Regions from separate parts of the Homo sapiens genome. Here regions 2, 3, 4, 5, 6 and 7 are each linked to region 1. The links are contacts of gene promoters, found by promoter capture Hi-C in blood cells and fetal thymus (Javierre and others, 2016). All regions are on one chromosome and are shown on one strand. The core of a region is centred on a gene start or on the middle of the fragment in contact, and the rest is flanking DNA. Distances in the headings are between cores, read along the strand shown. Region 1 holds the start of RNF182 (ring finger protein 182). Region 2 holds the start of DTNBP1 (dystrobrevin binding protein 1). Region 3 overlaps DTNBP1 (dystrobrevin binding protein 1). Region 4 overlaps DTNBP1 (dystrobrevin binding protein 1). Region 5 overlaps DTNBP1 (dystrobrevin binding protein 1). Region 6 overlaps DTNBP1 (dystrobrevin binding protein 1). Region 7 overlaps JARID2 (jumonji and AT-rich interaction domain containing 2).

Region 1 (2,736 bases), core at 162-2,661:
AATGTATGTGCATTTTGAATTCTGGCAGGTATTGCCAAATGCTTAATGGCCTGCCAAAAAGACCTTGTCTTTTGACTTCATCTGGAATATTATTGACTTCATTCAGAATATTCCCATTACAAGAAAGTGGCCAGTCTCTCCGAGGAACAAACTGTTTTCCTTTTCCACCATGAAATAGATCTTATCTTTTCATTAGTTAATATAGGTGTACCTTCAAATGGCAATAACATTGTTCTGCTTTGTGGCTTCTCAAGTAGTAAACCCAGAAAACATCAGCTACCGTGGATTTTATTATAAATCATTGACATTCCTTTGGTGATTCACAAATGCCAAAAAATAAATGTCATGTTCCCCAGGGTTTGAAGAAAGACACTGTAGCTTTTGGATTCAGCAACGGATCTTTCAAGAAAACAGTATGGAGGGATGACTCACTCCCCCCATGGAGGCTGCCCTCTAGTTCGTCCTTTAGAGGAAGCATGACCAAGGGTCTGCTGGTACTTTTCTCTCCCTCTCTAAGAATTTCCTCAGGAGAGGAAAAAGTTAGCTTTCTTTTCTCTGCTCCTGAGTGCCATGGCCTGCAGTACGTGACCAGTCCTTGGCACAGAGTCACTCAGGGCTCATGGTAGATGCTTAGCGGTCACAGCCAGTAGCTGCGCAGTGTGGCAGCAGCTGAGATCCATACTGCAGCCTGAAAGTTGTGTTTCAGCTTCTGAGGTTACAAGTGTATCCAGTGTTTACATCAGAGATAAAGCCCCCTTTCCCCTCTCTCCTACGGGAGCCCTCAACAAGACAGATACACGGGTTGGGTGGAGTGAGACCACATCCAGCAGAGGCAAAGCTTGCTAAAAGAGAGAGGAGGAGGAGGGGGAGAGGGAGGAGGCGGCACGGCGTCCCTTGGCAGCTCCGTGCATGCTGCGGCAGTTGCAACAGGAGAACCGAGTACCAGTTGCTCAACACTTTATCACTTTGCATTGCTCTTTCTCCTCCCTTAAGTGAATTTCCATTTTGAGGGTACAGCTCCACAGGAGAAAGGTGTGGTGGTGGTAGTGGTGGAGGGTGTCTGTGGGGGGGATGGTGGTGCGACGGGAGTTGGAATGTCCAGTGTGGGGAAGCAAAGGAGTGCCTACTAGGATGCGAATACCACTTGGCCCTGGGCTCGCTCCGCTTTAGCCTTCCCCTCTCGCTGGGGAGAAACAGGCGGTTTGTGAGGGAGACTGAGAGAGGGGCGTGTTTGTGGTGGTGGCGGCCCATCGGGGGTCCTTGTCCTCTCCGAATACCCGGACTGCTGAGGGGAAGGGCCGGGGGGGCCCCGGCGGTTGCCATGGTGACGCAGGGTCGGCGGCTCAGCGCCGTAGAGACAAAGCCGCCCGCCCGCCAGCCCGCTAGCTCCTCGCGCGAGCTCCTCCTCCACGGGAACCTCCCTCCCCTCCCAGGCGCCGCCGCAGCCGGAGCGGCTCCCGGGCCCTGGGCCGCCGCCGGCCAGGTAAGGCGATCGCGCCCGCGGCCGGGGAGGGGTCGGCGGGACGCCGGGCCTCCCCAACGCTGGGGCAGCAGCCAGCCCCGCAGTCCTGGACGGCGCCGGGCCGCCCAAGCGCGCCGAGGAGAGGGGGCGGCAAACTTCGGGCCGAGCGGCGCCGGGGCCCGCGCGCGGAGTCTCCCTCCGGGCACCACGGGGGCCGCCGTCCTGGCACCAACTTGAGGGGCTGTGCGGCGGAGGGCGGCTGCGGAGCGCCCGCGCGGGCTGCACCTGCTCAGGGAGCTGCCCCTCTGTTGTTGTTGTTATTTTCCTTCTTGGCGTGCCATCGAGGCTTTTGGGGGAAAAAAAGGTATGAAAGTATTTACCTTTGGACTTTCATGTTTCATGGCATTCTCTTTGAGGAGGGGTTGGGAGGGTAGTAAGAGGGACAAGCGAAAGATTTTTACGAATCTCTGAAAAGTGAGCCCATTTTTATGCCTGTGGCTGAAGCATTTTGAGGAGGCTTCTGAAGTTCGTTTGGATATTGAATCGAAAGACCTTTTTTTCTTTGGAAGGTGCAGTTGCACCTATAACTGGATGGTAAGGGTAGCCCGGCTTTCCCCGACTAGCAAGACCAGAATGTAGAGCAGTACCGATACTTTGTCAAGGAGATACTTGGCACCGAGGTCATTGCTTTTGTTTCTAGAAGGTATTGTGTTCATGCTGTAAGGAACTGGAAAGTGCCTTTTGTTTTTATGTGTAGGGAGGCAATCCAAAGCACCTCTGGAGGCAGGTAGCTGGGCGGTGTTTGCATCGGTGTTTATGAGTGGGATGATGAGGACCACGATGCGGTTGCCACTGGGGCACTGGATAGGTTATAGGTACCTTTCTCAGTGGCCCCAACCCTTGCAATCATTTCGTGATAGTTTGTTGCAGACGCGAAGCACAGATTTAAATTGTGACTGTGAAGACTTTTTTTTTTGGTACTTAGACATCATCTTACATGTAGTAATATGAAAGAAAACAGATACATTTTCAGAAATACAGTTGATCAATTCAGAAGGAAATTGTATATATGTTAATAAGATTTGTTTTAAATCATATTTAAACAATATGAGATGTCATATTGATAACTGGAAAATAATCTAACATATAAAATTGTATATCCAACTTAGTAAAATAATGTATAAGTTGGAATAGGTCATTTAAAGAACTATATGGAATGCAAGAAATTATATTTTTGCTAGAGAGTAATTAATGAAAACAGTACCACTGATCAT
Region 2 (2,736 bases), core at 237-2,736, 1.7 Mb after region 1:
AGGTGGAGCCAGGAGAATCGCTTGAATCCGGGAGGCGGCGGTTGCAGTGAGCCGAGATCACGCCACTGCACTCCAGTCTGGGTGACAGAGCAAGACTCCATCTCAAAAAAAAGGGGGGTGGGGGGGAGAAATTTAAAACAGTATGAGTGGAAATGTTCTCACATTCAGTGCATCCTCCAACAGGATTTGTAAGCTAAAGTTGAAAGATCCTTTTCAAAGACAGATCTTTTTCACTTTAAAGGAATGAAAAAATTAAAATTAAGCACTAAGTAACAATACTGACATGATGCTTGCTTCGTGTTTTACACATTAATTCATTAATCCTTGTAATAACCTTTTAAGTACCATCATTATCCCCATTTTACGGTAGCGGAAACAGTACATTGAGGCAAGGCAGCTGAGTAACTACGTTTGATTTAGTGGTCGAGCCAGGATGCCTAGGCAATCTGGCGCCAGAGTCTCGGCCTGTGGTTCCCAGGCGTTGGTGCCCACTGGAATCCCCTGGGGATCTTTAAAACGCCGTCTCCAGGCACTCTGGTCAACAGGTAGGGGGTGAGACCTGGGCATCAGAACTCTGAAAGGTTCCCAGGTGATTCTAAGCAAAGTTTGGGAACCGCTGGGTATTAAAAGCATTCCTAAAGTTCTGTCGCTTCTCCTGCTTAGGAGTTCCTTCGCCGAGGCGCTGAGCTCACGGCAAAGGTAGAGAAAGGACGCAACGGGGAGGGGCGGCCAGCCTTGCCAAGGGTTAGGCCGGCGAGCCGGGCGTGAAAGCCGAGACGCGGCGCGGAAGGCTGTGGCCGGAGGGTGCAGGCTGCTGCGCGGTGCGATCCGACTCGGGGAGGGTGGCTGGCCCAGCTCCAGGTGCGCACGAGCAGGTGTCTGCTGGGCCGAGGGGCGCAGGCCACTGTGCCGCGGGGGCGGAAGCGGTGAGGCGCGCTGGCTTCTCACATGACTTCCCTCCAGGGCCCAGCTGATGCTGCCGGGAAAGGACCGCAGGGTCCCACACCCCCCCCGGGCGCTCCGCTGCGCCGCCGAGCGCCTCCCGGTCCTGGGGGGTGCGCGTCACAGGCGGCCCGCAGGGACCTAAGTTACTTTGCGCCGCCCGACGCGAGGACGCCGGGAAGTTCGTTACTTTCCTCGGCGGGGCGGGGCGGGGAGGTGCGGGACAGGACGGACCCTGGACCGTGGCGCGGGGAAGGGAGCGAGGCAGGGGCATCCCAGGCGGCGGCCCGGCCCCCTCAGGTCCCTTTTCGTCGCCCACCGTATACCCACCCGGAGGTGAAATCCTGCTGCACGCTCAGCAGCCGCTCGCGAAGGGTCTCCAGCATTGCCGCCGCCGCCGGTCTCCTCTCCTCAGGCCTCGGGCTGCTGCTGCCTCTGTCGCCCCCTGGGTCCCACGCCGCCAACCCCGCGCTGTCACCGCGCGCCCCGCACTCCCACTACCGGCCCCGCCCCCGGTCTGGTCCTCGCCGCCGCGCCGCAACCCCAGCCCCTTCCGCGTTCCCGCCCCGCGCGCGCCAGGCTCGCGCAGCCGCAGTGGACTGCGCCGGGCTCGGGCTGCGGAAAAGGGGCGGGTCTTCCCCCGACCGAGAGGGCCAGTAGCTCCTCGGCTCATTCCTATCCCGCACCAGGCCTTCTCGTTTTTTTTTTTTTTTCTTTAAAATGGAAGCGGCATCGTGAAAGGATGATTTAACTCGAAGCCTCCTTTGAGGGAAGTGTTGGCTTTTACGTTTTGGAAGAGAATTGGATCTCTCTCTTCAATAGGCGATGTGCACAAATCATTGCATGGATTCTAGGTCCAGGATCTGACCCCACTGGCTTTCACCTTGAATGAGACAGTCAAATATTGAGCCTCGGTTTCTTCATTCATAAAATGGCAATAATAGTCGACTGTCTCGACATTCTTACTTTCCACTCTCTCTTTACCCCCCCAGGCTTTTGTGCCCTACACACCAAAGGTGATCGCCTTTCGCGAGTCACCAGTGACTTCCATGTTGCTGATGCCTTTTATTACTTCTCTGCCCTGATTTTTTCTCCACCTCTCAGTGGCTTTCAATGCAGTTTATCATCCCCATCCTTAAAACACTTTCTTCTCTTGCTAAGCACTCCATAGTTCCTCTCTCCCTTCCGCTCCACCCCTTCTCCTATTTTAATAGCCACTCCCAAGGCTACAGTCCAGCCTCCCCAGCTCTTCTCTCTTCTCCAGATGTGTTGTTCCATAGATGGATAGCATAGAGTCTATCCATTACCACGCTGTAAATTCTGTCAAGGAACCGATGACTCCCACAGCTCTATCTTCTGCCCTGTCCTTCCTCCCTCTCCGTCAATTCATACCAGTTGCTTACTCATGTAAGCATGTATACAACATGTATCCAAAAGGCATCTCAGACCAACATACACAAAATTGAAAATTTCATTCATTGCATGTTCACCTTTAATCTGCTCATCCTGTATTTTCCGTTTCAGTAAATGACACCACCATCCACCAATTTGCTCAAGGTAAGACACTTGAAATCACCTCTGGTTCCCCTCTTTTCCTCATTCCCCATATTAACCCATCAAATCCAATCAACTCTACTCCTGAAGTATTTCTGGAACCTCCTTCTCTTTCTATATCTTCACTATATTTATCCTGGTCGAAGGCACCATCCTCTTTCAATGGGAACACAGACAGTTCTTCCAGATTCTACTCTTTTGCCATACACACCCCTATAATCCATCCTTGACACAGCAGCC
Region 3 (2,736 bases), core at 68-2,567, 1.7 Mb after region 1:
ACTTTTGGGTAAACAATGAAATTAAGGCAGAGATAAAAAAAAATTAATTGAATCAAATGAAAATAAAGACACAACATACCAAAACCTCTGAGATACAGAAAAAGCAGTATTAAGAAGAAAATTTACAGTGCTCCATGACTACACCAAAACACACAAAGATCTCAAATTAACAACTTAACACCACACTTTTAAGAACTAGAAAGGCAAGAACAAACTAAACCCAAAGCTAACAGAAGAAATAATTATGATCAGAGCAGAACTAAATGAAATTGAGACCAAAAAAAAACCATACAAAGTATCAACAACACAAAAAGTTAGATATTTGAAAAGATAAACAAGATTGACAGACTGCTGGCTAGATTAACCAAGAAAAAAAGAAAAGAGATTCAAATAAGCACTATCAGAAATGACAAAAGTGACATCATAACTGACACCACAGAAAGACAAAAGATCATCAGAGACTACTAAGAACATCTCTATGTGCACAAATTAGAAGACCTAGAGGAAATGGATTAATTCCTAGAAACACATCACCTTCCAGACTGAACCAGAAAGAAATTGAAATTCTGAACAGACCAATAACAAGTTACGAAATTCAATCAGTAATAATAATAATAAAAAAAATCTACCAACCAAAAAAAGCCCTAGACCAGATGGATTTACAGCTAAATTCCACCAGATGTACAAAGAACTGGTACCAATCTTACTGAAACTATTCCAAAAAATTGAAGAGAGGAGATTTCTCCTTCACCTCATTCTATGCAACTAGTATTATCCTGATTCCAAAACCTAGCAATGACATAACAAAAAAAGAAAACTACAGGTCAACATTACTGATAAACATAGACACAAAAATCCTCAACAAAATGCTATCAAACTAAATCCAACAGCACATCAAAGAGATAGTTCACCATGATCAAGTGGGTTTAACCCTTGGATGCAAGGACGGTTCAACAAACACAAATCAATGAATGTGATTTACCACATAAACAGAGTTAAAAGCAAAAATAACATAATCTTCTCAAAAGACACAGAAAAGGCATTCGATAAAATTCAATATCCCTTCATAACGAAAATCCTCAACAAACAAGGCATCAAAGGAACATACCTGAAAATACTAAGAGCCATATATGACAAACCCACAGTCAACACAATACTGAATGGGCAATAGTTGAAAGCATTCTCCCTAAGAACTGGAACAAGACAAGGATGTCCACTCTCACCACTCCTATTCAACATAATACTGGAAGTCCTAGCTGGAGCAATCAAGCATGAGAAAGAAATATAAGGTACCCAAATAGGAAAAGATGAAGACAAATTAATTATCTCTGTTTGCTGACAACATGATTACATACCCAGAAAACCCTAAAGAATCCTCCAAAAGACTCATAGACCTGATAAACAACTTCAGTAACTTTTCAACATACAAAAGCAATGTACAAAACTCCACAGCATCAACTCATTTGAGAAACTAAAAAATAAAAATTAAAAAATAAATAAAAATAAAATCTGCAGCATTTTTATACACCAACAACATTCAATCTGAGAACCAAATCAAGAACTCAATCTCATTTACAATAGACACACACACACACACACACACACACACATATACAATACCTAGTATATATAACCAAGGAAGTGAAAGATCTCTACAAAGAGAACTGTAAAACACTGATGAAAGAAATCATAGATGACACGAATGGAAAAACATTCCATGCTCATGGATTAGAAGAATCAATAACATTAAAATAACCACATTGCCCAAAGCAATCTACAGATTCAGTGCAATTCCCATCAAATTACCAATGCCATTTTCCCCAAAATCAGAAAAAAAAAATCTAAAATTCATATGGAATCAAAAAAAGAGCCTGAATAGCCAAAGCAATCCAAAGCAAAAAGAACAAATCTAGAAGCATCACATTACCTGACTTCAAACCATACTACAAGGCTACAGTAACCAAAACATCATAGTACTAGTATAAAAATAGACACACAGATCAATGGAACAGGATAGAGAATCCAGAAATAAAGTCACACAGCTACAACTAACTGATCTTCAGCAACGTCAACAAAAATAAACAATGGGGAAAGGACACCCTATTCAATAAATGGTGCGAGGAAAACTGGCTAGCCATTTATGGATGAACAAAACTGGACCCCTACCTCTTACCATATACAAAAATTAGCTCAAGATTAAAGACTTACATGTAAGACCTCAAACTATAAAAACCCTAGAAGAAAACCTAGAAAAAAACCCTTTTGGGCACTGGCCTAAGCAAATAATTTATGACTAAGACATCAAAAACAATTGTGACAAAAAATGACAAATGGGACTTAAACTAAAGAGCTTCTGCGTAGCAAAAGAAACAACACAATAAACAGACAACCTACAGAATGAGAGAAAGTTTTTGCAAACTATGCATCCATCAAAAGACTAATATCCAGAATCTATAAGGAACTTAAACAAATGAACAAGAAAAAACAACCCCATTAAAAAGTGAGCAAAGGATATGAATAGACTCTTCTCAAATGAAGACATATAAGAAGCCAACAAAGATGAAAAAAATGCTCAGCATCACTAATCATCAGAGCAATGCAAATTAAAACCAAATGAGATACATACAATCTCATGCCAGTCAGATGTGAAAAATGATACATGAACAAAATGGTAACATCAATACCACTACCGTTTATATCTACCAATGGTAGATATAAAACAGAAAGGAACCAATA
Region 4 (2,736 bases), core at 129-2,628, 1.7 Mb after region 1:
AGATAATAGGGTATCTTTAGCTTCCCACCTAAAAGACTAAAACAGGTTATTAGCTCATACAGACAGCTCCTACCTCCTACTTTACTAAGATCTTAAGCTTGATTAGGAAATAGTAAGCTGCAATATTATCCTTAGATGTGGCATCATCAAACATAAAAGATAATTTTCTGAATATAAACCCAAGAAAAAAAGAATACCAACATAATCCATCCAAATGAACAACGACAAAAAAATAAATTTCCACAGAGTATAAATTTAGCCAAACAGGTACCCTAATTTACTTTGTTGTTGTTGTTGTTTGAGACAAGGTCTCACTATGTTGCCCAGGCTGGATTCAAACTCCTGGGCTCAAGCACTCCTCCTGCCTCAGTCTCCAGAATAGCTGCAACTGCAGGCACGTGCCACCACACCCAGCACAAGTACCCTCATTTAACCAGGTTTGTTTGATCTCCAATCCGTTTGAAGAGAAAAAAATACACTACAAGACATGAAGTTCTAGCATATCTAAATTTTAAAAGCAACAATTTCTGGAATACATTCTACAGTAAGGACAAAGTCACCTAATCCATTTTCTATATGTATGCTTTTAAACAGAGACCAAATGTCAACAAAGACAACCTGAGTCACTTTAAGAATCAACATAATTATAATTATGTGTCCGGAGCTGACCTGAGGCAGAAACAGAACTAATTTCTACACTTTACATCATTTTCTGTGGAATCCTCAACTAATCAAAATATGAAATCATGATTTTCCAAAAAATCCTGTTAACCCAGAATTTCATGTGTTCCTGAAAAGCTCTGAAATTACACCAAACCCTGCCCAAGTTGTTTTCATTCCTAAAAGTAATGTACAATGAAAACATTGGACTTACTCAGATTTGCTGTCATGGATTCTAAGTCTGCGATTAAAGCTGGGAGCTGCTGGAGCTGCTCTTGCAGCTCCACGAGGCTTGTCTTTTTCTTCTCCCAGTGCGCAGAAAGCATGACCACCTCGCTATCCACCAGCTGCAGCACACAAGAAGGGGGGTAAAGTGAAACCAGGTTTTAGGCACAAAGAAAGTACAGTTAACGTAATGAGATTTAATGTTATCTTTAACAACCCCTCTACTCAGTAGAGATTACGGTACATTCTAAAAGAGACTGAAGTTGTTTTCATTTTTAGAAAAGAAACAACTTAATATTCAGTGCAGGAAACCTCCAATTACTGCTTGTATCAGTGCATCTTAACCCACAGAAGAGAAAGTTTAAAAATGACTTCAGAAGTCACTTCTAAGTATACCCTGTTTTAAGCAGACCATGTATTTGAAAAGCTAAATCTAGAAAAAAAAAAAACAAAAACAAAAAACTACCACTAACAACCAAAAAGAAAACAAACATAAAACATAATTAACGGGTAATTATTGGCTTTACGAAAGGAAGTCTTCAAAGAAAAGTTCCCTAATACATTTAGAATATACCATGTTTCAATTTACATTTAAACAGGAATACTTATTGCATAAAGTATATAAAGGAATTTTGAGGAAACTGGCCAATTCCAGAATTCCAGAAAAAGAGGAAATGATTTAAGTTAATGAGGAATTCAGCAGATGTAAAGGGTTCCTAATAGCAAGGTTGTGAAATTCTAGAATAGCCTAAGATAATTCTAACTTCTTTTGCTAAAGACTATAAAGAAAATGACAGACATTAGTTTCTCCCAGACAATTCTGTTTTGGTCTTAACATAGTGGGAGGGACAAGGGCCTAGAAAGACTTAGAAGGAGCAAGAAGAGGTGATCTTTTGAAAATATCAACATGAATAAGCAAGAACTGTGGAAAAAACTCCATAATCTGTACGATAAAAAATAAAGGTAACAAAACCCATTATATGACAGAAGAAAATGAATTTGAGTATTCAAAACAGACAATTTGTACATCTCAAGATTAAGGTTCTTTTTTTTTTTTTTTTTTTTTTTTGAGACGAAGTTTCGCTCTTGTTGCCCAGGCTGGAGTGCAGTGGTGCTATCTTGGCTCACTGCAACCTCCGCCTCCCAGGTTCATGCGATTCTCCTGCCTCAGACTCCCCAGTAGTTGGGACTACAGGCACCTACCACCACACCCGGCTAATTTTTTGTATTTTTAGTAGAGACAGGGTTTCACCAAGTTGGCCAGGCTGGTTTTGAACTCCTGGCCTCAAGCAATCCACCCATCTTGGCCTCCCAAAGTGTTAGGATTACAGGCATGAGCCACTGTGCCCGGCCAGGATTAAGGCTCTTTAAGAGTTAGAATCTGAATACAACTGATTCTTACTAAGTTCCACTTAATAAATTAAGAAAGAACTTTGGAGGAATGAATATATCAAAGATACAAAATTATTTGTATGTAGTACTAGATTGTTTTTGTTCGTACATTTCACTATAGTAGGAATTCTCATTTGAAATAAAGAACTAAGCTATGACACATCTCCCTGTGGTTTCTCAGCCCACGCTGGAGGGATAAACACATAATCTCTCACATTCAAGCCTCAACTGAGCTGGGAGGCCACATCAAGTTTCACGCAAACCGCATTTCTCATTATTTTTGTGTATTTAAAAATGTCTGTTGCCAACTGGTCTTTAAAAAAAATCTTTAAAAGTAGCTTAAAACATACTGAAAAAACAGCTAAAATGCAGTAAGGAAACCAAAGCTTGAAACAAGGATCTATGTTCACAAAATTCATTTATAATATTCCACAAACTTCCACTGACCACCCACTATTT
Region 5 (2,736 bases), core at 159-2,658, 1.7 Mb after region 1:
TCTTTACGAAAAATGTATTTCCTATTGGTTACAAAAGCTTCTGCCAGGGGTCCATGAATTAGACTCGTATGGCTGTAGCACTCATCTTCTGAACTATCTGACAACTTAGCTACTGGTTTGAGTACCTGTCTTTGCCTATAGCCATATTCTAGCCACTACACAATGTTTTGTTGTTTATCAAGGCAATGTCCGTTCCAGTCTACAAAGGCACTGGTAACAGTAATATCATTTTACATGCAGAAAAATATTTAGAAAAGCAATTTATGGGTATTTTCCCCGTACAACCACACAAGTGTCTTAGATGGCACTTTTCTCAGATAACTAGCTAAAGAGAGATGTCCTACTTTACTGCACAAATGAAGTGGATTAAACCGTCTATTCAAATGTTTCTCAAGGGTAGGTAAGAGCTATCAGAACCATCCCTAGGCTGTATATTTCCCTACCCACTGGGAGAATCCCCTGACTAGGAAGCCACTGTCACGTTTATTTTATTTTGTGTTTATTTATTTTATAATGGGTCACAGTCCTGTTTTTGTAGGGGCAGGAATGTATTCTCTCTGCTGGGAACGTCCGTCAAATGAATGACAAAATATCATATATCCATTTGAAACTACAGATGCACTGGTATAAACATCTGGGACTCAATCAGTTTGTTCCAACTTAACATCAAAAAAGAAGACACATTTGGGTTGGTGTGGTGGTGTGGTGGGAGCCTTGGACTGAAGACTCTGGTTCTGATGCTGGCCCCTAAATAGTCTGATGACTTAATGCAACTCAATCTCCTTCTCAACTCCAAAAATTGCTGCCCTGCCCACACTACAGGCTCTGGTGGGAGCTGAATGAGAAAAGCCATAGGAGCCTATTGCAGAGCCTATTAGCACTGGAGGAGTGTGAAAAATTATCTTTCATTCTCCCACTCTCCCCACCTTCATCCAGTGTTCTGGCCCGGATTTTTGGGAAAGCTACAGGGTGTGCAAACATTGTTAAAAAAATGCATGCACATAAGCATATCACATATCCAACTTTTTCTATCACATATTATCGTTTTCTTCAGAGTAAGAAAAGTCATTAGTGTAGTTTGCATAGCATCTTGTTAAAAAGGAAGAAGGTTTATTTTTAAGCGACTCATCTCTTATGAACCAGAAAATTAAAAGTTTTTCACTGGCAGTATTTGAAAATTTCTCAAATGGTGTTATGTAGAATACTAAGTCACAGAATGTTAATATGTGTTACATGCAAATTGATTCTGTGAGCAAGTAAGTTGTGAAATGCTGAGTCAAAAAAAAATTTTTTTTTTTTTTTTTTGAGACAGAGTCTCACTCTGTAACCCAGGCTGGAGTGCAGTGGTGTGAGCTCAGCTCACTGCAACCTCCCGGTCCTGGGTTCAAGCAATTCTCCTGCCTTAGCCTCTTGAGTGTCTGGGATTACAGGCACCCACTACCACATCCAGCTAATTTTTGTATTTTTAGTGGAGACAGGGTTTCACCATGTTGGCCCGGCTGGTCTCGAACTCCTGACTTCAAGTGATCTGCCGCTTTCGGCTGGGATTACAGGCATGAGCCACTGTGCCCGGCCAAAATATTTCTTTGTTTTTTTGAGACAGAGTCTCACTCTGTTGCCCAGACTGGAGTGCAGTGGCACGATCTTGGCTCACTGCAACCTCCACCTCCGGAGTTCAAGGGATTCTCCTGCCTCAGCCTCCCAAGTAGCTGGGATTATAGGCATGCAACACCATGCCCAGCTAATTTTTATATTTTTAGTAGAGATGGGGTTTCACCATGTTGGCCAGGCTGGTCTCAAACTCCTGACCTCACATGATCTGCCCGCCTCAGCCTCCCAAAGTCCTGGGATTATAGGTGTGAGCCACCGTGCCCAGCAAAACATTTCTTTACCACAGGAATTCTCAGAACCTTTAGCACGCTGATGCACACTGCAAAGCTCCGTGGGCAAATGCAAAGTGTTTCTGGAGCTTATCTGATCACATACTGTTTTATCAATGGCAACCTTTTCAGTCTAGTATTCCATGCAGAAGAATTCAGGGAATGTTATATGGAATTAATTAAAAAATGTTTAATTCAATTTTTGCATGTTGATAGTACATACCCATTCCTGAAGTCAAAGAGCACCCAGGAGATGTATTTATAGTGAAGACAAGTAGTCCCTGCCCCAGCTCTCTCCACCTTTCTGCCCTGTTTTTCACAAGCAGCCATGTTCAATTCTTTCAGTTATTTTTCCTGGCATTTACCTCTGTTATTTCTAAATAATATGCAAATATTAATATTTATTCTTTTTTCAATTTTAAATATTACTTCTTGATTTCCTGCTGGAGAAGATGAGGATTAGCTATTTTACACCTCTAATTCCCCTCAACACAAATATGCTTTTTCTCCCCCATCTCCCCAGCAAGTTTTATCACAATTCTGCTTTTAATTATTCCAATATCACATAAATACTGTTTGTGACTGAGCCATGTAGCATATTATTTCTCTTTTTTAAAAACTGTTTCCCCTCAGTGTTAATATCTACCTTGTTGTTGTTTGCTTGGTTTAAAAAAAAACACACACATTTATCTCTAATTCCTCATTAAACCCTCCACCAGAGTTTAATAATTCAAGTTATAAATAAATAAATAAATAAATAAAGGAGTCATAAAGCTCCTCTCAATATTGCCACGCCGATAAGACAATGCATTAGCTTCATTTTTTCCCCCTTGGAAACACTACTTAGAATTCTCCA
Region 6 (2,736 bases), core at 123-2,622, 1.6 Mb after region 1:
GATGAACCTGGAGCACATATGCTAAGTGCAGTAAGCCGGAGTCACGAAAAGGCAAATGCTGTGTGCTTCCAGCCAGTCGCGAAAAGGCAAATGCTGTGTGCTTCCACTCATATGAGGTACCTAGAGCAGTCAGATGGATGGAGACACGAAGTGTGCTCTCAGGGCTGGGGAGAGGGCGTGGGAGCTTAGTGGTTAATGGGTACAGATTTTCAGTTTTACAAGACGAAAGACATCTGGAGATGGATGGTAGTGATGGATGCACAGCATGAATATATTTAATACCACTCAGCTGGACACTTATGAATTCTATGTACACATAAAATGGTAAATTTTATGTGTACTTTACCACAGTAAAAAGTTGGGAACAGGGCCGGGCGCGGTGGCTCACGCCTATAATCCCAGCCCTTTGGGAGGCCGAGGCAGGCGGATCACCTGAGGTAAGGAGTTCGAGACCAGCCTGGCCAATATGGTAAAACCGTAAAACCCCATCTCTACTAAAAATACAAAAATTAGCCAGGCATGGTGGCAGTCACCTGTATTCCCAGCTACTCAGGAGACTGAGGCAGGAGAATCACTTGAACCCAGGAGGCAGAGGTTGCAGTGAGCCAAGATCTTGCCACTGCACTCCAGCCTGGGAGACAGAGCGAGACTCTGTCTCAAAAAAAAAAAAAAAAAAAAGCTTGGGAACAAAAAAAGTAAGTATGTAGCCATCATGGTGTATTACAAAGTGCTTAATCTTGGCTTTTTAGTGTTTACTGACCACACAACCTAATCAGTTAACCTTCTCATCTGAAAATTTGGGATAGAAATATTAACCCAATATTGATATGAAACATATGAAAGGATGTGAAAAAATTTTATAATTTAAGGGACCAGTGACCCTTCAAGGTAAGCCTTAGTAATATACAAGGCAAGAACACTAACATAATTAACCTTCACCTGGTCATTCAAGCAAGAACCCCAAATCTCCCAGCTATAAACACTTTCCAGTAGTTTAACTTTTCCTCAAGGCACGTGATATGGTTTAGCTCTGTGTTCCCACCCAAATCTCATATCGAATTGTAATTCTCACATGTCAGGGGAGGGAAGTGATTGGGTCATGGGGGCAGTCTCCCCCATGCTGTTCTCGTGATAGTGAGTAGTTCTCACTAGATCTGATGGTTGTGTAAGTGTCTGACAGTTCCTCCTTCACATGCTCATACTCTCCACCTTGTGAAGGAGCCTGCTTCCCCTTCTGCCATGATCATAAGTTTCCTGAGGCCTCCCCAGCCATGCAGAGCTGTGAGTCAATTAAACCTCCTTTGTTTATAAATTACCTATTTTTTTTGAGACAGAGTCTTACTCTGTTCCCCAAGCTGAAGTGCAGTGACAGTGGTGCGATCTCAGTTCACTGCAACCTCTGCCTCCTGGGTTCAAGCAATTATTGTGCCTCAGCCTCCCAAGTAGCTGGGATTACAGGAGCACGCCACTATGCCCAGCTAATTTTTTGTATTTTTAGTAGAGATGGAGTTTTGCCATGTTGGTCAGGCTGGTCTCAAACTCCTACCTCAAGTGATCTGCCTGCCTCGGCCTCCCAAAGTGCTGGAACTACAGGTGTGAGCAACCTCACCCAGCCTCAGGTATTTCTTTATAGCAGTGTGAATATTGACTAATGCAGCAAATTGGTACTGGAGAGAGTGGGGTATTGATATAAAGATACTTGAAAATGTGGAAGGGACTTTGGAACTGGGTTACGGGTAGAGGTTGGAACAGTCTGGAGGGCTCAGAAAAAGACAGGAAGATATGGGAAACTCTGGAACCTCCTAGAGACTTGTGGAATGGTTTCAACCAAAATGCTGATAGTGATGTGAACAATGAAGTCCAGACTGAGGTGGTCTCAGATGGAGATGAGGAACTTATTGGGAACTGGAGTAAAGGTCACTCATGCTATGCTTTAGCAGACTGGTGGCATTTTGCCATGCCTTTGAGATCTGTGGAACCTTGAACTTGAGAGCAATGATTAAGGGTATCTGGTGGAAGAAATTTCTAAGCAGTAAAGCATTCAAGACATGACCTGGATTATTCTGAAAGCTTTCAGTTTTATGTGTTCACAAGGAGATAGTTTGAACTTGGAGCTTATGTTTACAAGAAAAGCAAAACATAAAAGTTTAGAAAATCTGTAGCCTGACAATGCGACAGAAAAGAAAAACCCATTTTCTGGGGAGAAATTCAAGCCAGCTGCAGAAATTTGCATAAGTAATAAGGAGTTGAATGTTAAGTGCCAAGACAATGCGGAAAATGTCTCCTGGGCATGTCAGAGATTTTGGCAGCAGCCTCTCCCATCACAGGCCCTGAGGCCTAGGAGGAAAAATAGTTTTGTGGGCCAGGCCCAGGGGCCAGCTGCTCTGTGCAGCCTTGGGATATGGCACCCTGCATTCCAGCCACTCTAACTACAGCCGTGGCTAAAAGGGGCCAAGGTACAGCTTGGGCTATTGCTTCAGAGGGTGCAAGCCACAAGCCTTGGCAGCTTCCACATGCTGTTAGGCCTGCGGGTGCACGGAAGTCAAGAATTGAGGTTTGGAAACCTTGGCCTAGATCTCCCAGGATGTATGGAAATGCCTGGATGTCCAGGCAAAAGTCTGCTGCAGGGACACAGCCCTCATGGAGATCTCTATTAGGGCAGTGCAAATGGTAAATGTGGGGTTGCTGCCCCACCACCTCCACAGAGTCCCCACTGGGGCACTGCCTAGTGGAGCT
Region 7 (2,736 bases), core at 122-2,621, 1.6 Mb after region 1:
ACCCTCTGACAGAGGCCTATGAGCCCTTGATCCTCCTGTGTGTCTTGCTGTATGTGCCTGATGCCGGGTAGGCTGGGTCCTAACACGTAAAACTCTCCAGTGGGGAGCAGAGCTGGGGGCCCCTAGCTATCCCCTGACCCCTACTTCACCACAGCATCTGCCAAGGAGTTGGCCTTGAGGTGGCACATGTGCATGAGCCTGGCTCCTTCCCCAACTCTCTGTGCATTTGTAGAGGGCAGGGTTTACTGTTCCTGTCTGGAGGGCCGAGGGAGCCACGTATTCCTTGTGAGGACATTATCAGGTGCTGCTCCTGCAGTGGCCTCTGTTAACAGAAGGAGGGTGCAGTGCTGGAGCCTCAGAAGAGGCTCGTGGAGGCCGCAGTGTGTCTGGTTCTGATTTCTAGGGGTTTGTGAACATCTGTTTGTGGTTTGAAGGCTTTTTGGCTCACCAGGTGGGTCAGATCTCCATAAAAGATGAGCATCTCGCAACGCGGATGCACTGTGGTTTGGCTGTGTGCTAGGTGGACGTGGCACTGCTGCCATGGGAAATGGGAGCCAGCAGTGACCAGGCACCCAGCCAGGCCAGTGCGCCATCCCTGCCGGCGTGGAGCAGAGCCTCTCGTGTGCTCGGGTCCCTGAGGGTGACGGGGGTGGCCCAGTACATGCAGGAGGCCCTTGTCAAGTCTCTGCTTGTCTCTTGTGTCTCTCAATGACCCAGGTATTGCATTCCTGCTGAGGAGGAGAACAAGCTGGAAGATGTGGTCCACACCCTGCTGCAAGCCAATGGCACCCCAGGGCTGCAGATGCTGGAAAGCAACGTCATGGTGCGTCCACTCAGCCACCGCCTCCAGCAGGAGCTGTAGGACCTCCTAGGCACTTGAACATGGTTTCCCATGAACCCGCCTTTCAAAGGCAATGAGGACACAGCAAAACAAATCCCCAGGGTGCAAAGGGAAAGGTCCTCTGACACAAAAGCCAAACTGACCTTCCATCAGATTGCACAGGGCGCTGGGGTTTTGCACGGCCTTTGCATCTGTTTTGGGGCTTGTTTGTGTTGTGGGCTGCTGTGGGCCCTGGGATTTCTTGTGCCCGCCGCTCCTACCTTCTGGGCATGTGAGAGGAATGAGCACAAAGGCTTCTTCACCTGTTTTCAGGAAGTCATGGGGCTGGTGAGTTCCTGGGAAGTGCTGCTTTGAGCTGAGTTCTGACCAGCTTCTCTGGCCTCTGCTGACCCTGCCGGTCCCGCCTGTCCATCTTAGAGAAGAGATGGACGGGGGACTCCTTTGTAAGCCCAGCCTGTGGGCCTGTGGCCTACTTGGCTCTGGAGATGAGCCCGGCAGCCTCCTGGTTGTGTAACCTTGTCCTGTTTCCAGCCCTGGCATTGCCACGTGGGGACAGAGGGGCCTGTGTGGTCATCATGTCCTCAGCTGTGCATGAACCTGTCATCACTCTTGGACCAGTGCAGTTTAGAAGCTCCTTCTTGTGTTATGAATGACGTCTTTTTATTTTCCACATAAAACAATCTTATCTCCTTGAGAGCAGGCCTCTTAGGGTGCGCATACGTCACCTGAAGACTGCAGGTGTCCCTGCGCACAGGGAGGGGTGCCTCAGCCTGGCCCTGTCTCCCCAGATCTCCCCGGAGGTGCTGTGCAAAGAGGGGATCAAGGTGCACAGGACCGTGCAGCAGAGTGGCCAGTTTGTCGTCTGCTTCCCGGGATCCTTTGTGTCCAAAGTGTGCTGTGGGTACAGCGTGTCTGAAACCGTGCACTTTGCTACCACCCAGTGGACAAGTATGGGCTTTGAGACCGCCAAGGTGAGCAGAGCCGGCCTCCTCCCGCTTGCTGCCCCCGCATCCCTGTGAGTGCCGTGCGTGAGCGCACACAGAAGCATCCCTGCGTGTGCGTGTCTATTTGTCAATAGTTCCTTTTGGAATATGTCTTTGAAATTCTTAAGACGTGGTTGAAAGGTCTTCTAGGAATGAAAAGTTGTTAGGGATTTGTTTGTATCACAAAGAGTTTTGATCAGACCGTTACTGACAGACCCCTCCAGTATTGGAAAACTGTTGAAGATGCTCAAGGTAATTGCTTAGAATGGACAGAGAACCTCCACCCATCGTGAGGGAGTGGCAGCTGCCTCTGGGTAGCGGCGAAGTGCTATGACTTTTCCTGGTATGTGGTGCCTTTCTCACAGGGAGGCAAAGTTTTGAAGAGTTTTTAATCTAAATGCAATTCAAGATTTAGAAATTCAGACAGCCTGCCTGCCCCCTCCACCAAGAAGAACCTTGACAGCTGCCTAGTAATGAAAATCCACCCTAAAGGGATGTGACTCCTCTTTCAGGAAATGAAGCGTCGCCATATAGCTAAGCCATTCTCCATGGAGAAGTTACTCTACCAGATTGCACAAGCAGAAGCAAAAAAAGAAAACGGTCCCACTCTCAGTACCATCTCAGCCCTCCTGGATGAGCTCAGGTAACAGACCCCCAGAGCCCACGCCAGAGAGCTGGACCCGGCTGCCCTTCGGGGGCTCACCCCCCGAGCAGGCCTCACTTCCTGACAGGAGGGTGTGTCTGCAGGGAGGCCGGTGTGGGGTGCGTGTGTCCCCTCTGCTGGTGAGCATGGCAGGCCGTCACTAAAGGTGCGGGCCGTCTCCCGTGTCTGGCAGGGATACAGAGCTGCGGCAGCGCAGGCAGCTGTTCGAGGCTGGCCTCCACTCCTCCGCACGCTATGGCAGCCACGAT

What was found. The method cuts DNA at HindIII sites, captures the fragments that hold promoters and counts their contacts. A CHiCAGO score of 5 or more calls a contact.
Region 2: the fragment with the promoter of DTNBP1 here is called in contact with the fragment with the promoter of RNF182 in region 1 in 6 of 17 cell types (total B cells, naive B cells, activated CD4 T cells and 3 more); the score reaches 13.7 in total B cells.
Region 3: a fragment that was not itself captured here is called in contact with the fragment with the promoter of RNF182 in region 1 in 1 of 17 cell types (naive B cells); the score reaches 5.5 in naive B cells.
Region 4: a contact is called between a fragment that was not itself captured here and the fragment with the promoter of RNF182 in region 1, in 5 of 17 cell types (activated CD4 T cells, naive B cells, total B cells and 2 more). The highest score is 12.7, in activated CD4 T cells.
Region 5: a contact is called between a fragment that was not itself captured here and the fragment with the promoter of RNF182 in region 1, in 1 of 17 cell types (naive B cells). The highest score is 6.6, in naive B cells.
Region 6: a contact is called between a fragment that was not itself captured here and the fragment with the promoter of RNF182 in region 1, in 1 of 17 cell types (total B cells). The highest score is 5.4, in total B cells.
Region 7: a fragment that was not itself captured here is called in contact with the fragment with the promoter of RNF182 in region 1 in 2 of 17 cell types (total B cells and naive B cells); the score reaches 7.3 in total B cells.

What each region holds. Positions count from the first base shown.
Region 1 is chr6:13,923,541-13,926,276 of GRCh38, forward strand. RNF182 (ring finger protein 182) reads left to right here and starts at 1,412. Exons shown (of 3, transcript NM_152737.4): 1 at 1,412-1,483. RefSeq lists an enhancer at 307-807. The HindIII fragment of the contact is 2,801 bases long and covers 837-2,736 here.
Region 2 is chr6:15,661,542-15,664,277 of GRCh38, forward strand. DTNBP1 (dystrobrevin binding protein 1) reads right to left here and starts at 1,487. Exons shown (of 10, transcript NM_032122.5): 1 at 1,273-1,487. The coding sequence starts at 1,328. RefSeq lists an enhancer at 694-743 and a silencer at 974-1,483. The HindIII fragment of the contact is 5,039 bases long and covers 1-2,736 here.
Region 3 is chr6:15,644,678-15,647,413 of GRCh38, forward strand. All of the region lies in intron 3 of DTNBP1 (dystrobrevin binding protein 1), which reads right to left. Among named protein-coding and RNA genes, the nearest start is that of DTNBP1, 17 kb to the right of the region's middle. The HindIII fragment of the contact is 4,613 bases long and covers 1-2,736 here.
Region 4 is chr6:15,626,469-15,629,204 of GRCh38, forward strand. DTNBP1 (dystrobrevin binding protein 1) reads right to left here. Exons shown (of 10, transcript NM_032122.5): 5 at 875-1,007. Among named protein-coding and RNA genes, the nearest start is that of DTNBP1, 35 kb to the right of the region's middle. The HindIII fragment of the contact is 2,566 bases long and covers 96-2,661 here.
Region 5 is chr6:15,605,724-15,608,459 of GRCh38, forward strand. The region is part of intron 6 of DTNBP1 (dystrobrevin binding protein 1); the gene reads right to left. Among named protein-coding and RNA genes, the nearest start is that of DTNBP1, 56 kb to the right of the region's middle. The HindIII fragment of the contact is 2,746 bases long and covers 36-2,736 here.
Region 6 is chr6:15,534,002-15,536,737 of GRCh38, forward strand. All of the region lies in intron 7 of DTNBP1 (dystrobrevin binding protein 1), which reads right to left. All of the region lies in intron 2 of LOC105374947 (a long non-coding RNA gene), which reads left to right. Among named protein-coding and RNA genes, the nearest start is that of DTNBP1-AS1, 11 kb to the right of the region's middle. RefSeq lists a silencer at 1,043-1,243. The HindIII fragment of the contact is 1,391 bases long and covers 678-2,068 here.
Region 7 is chr6:15,510,579-15,513,314 of GRCh38, forward strand. JARID2 (jumonji and AT-rich interaction domain containing 2) reads left to right here. Exons shown (of 18, transcript NM_004973.4): 13 at 718-823; 14 at 1,630-1,812; 15 at 2,337-2,467; 16 at 2,661-2,736. Among named protein-coding and RNA genes, the nearest start is that of DTNBP1-AS1, 34 kb to the right of the region's middle. RefSeq lists an enhancer at 2,213-2,736. The HindIII fragment of the contact is 8,599 bases long and covers 1-2,736 here.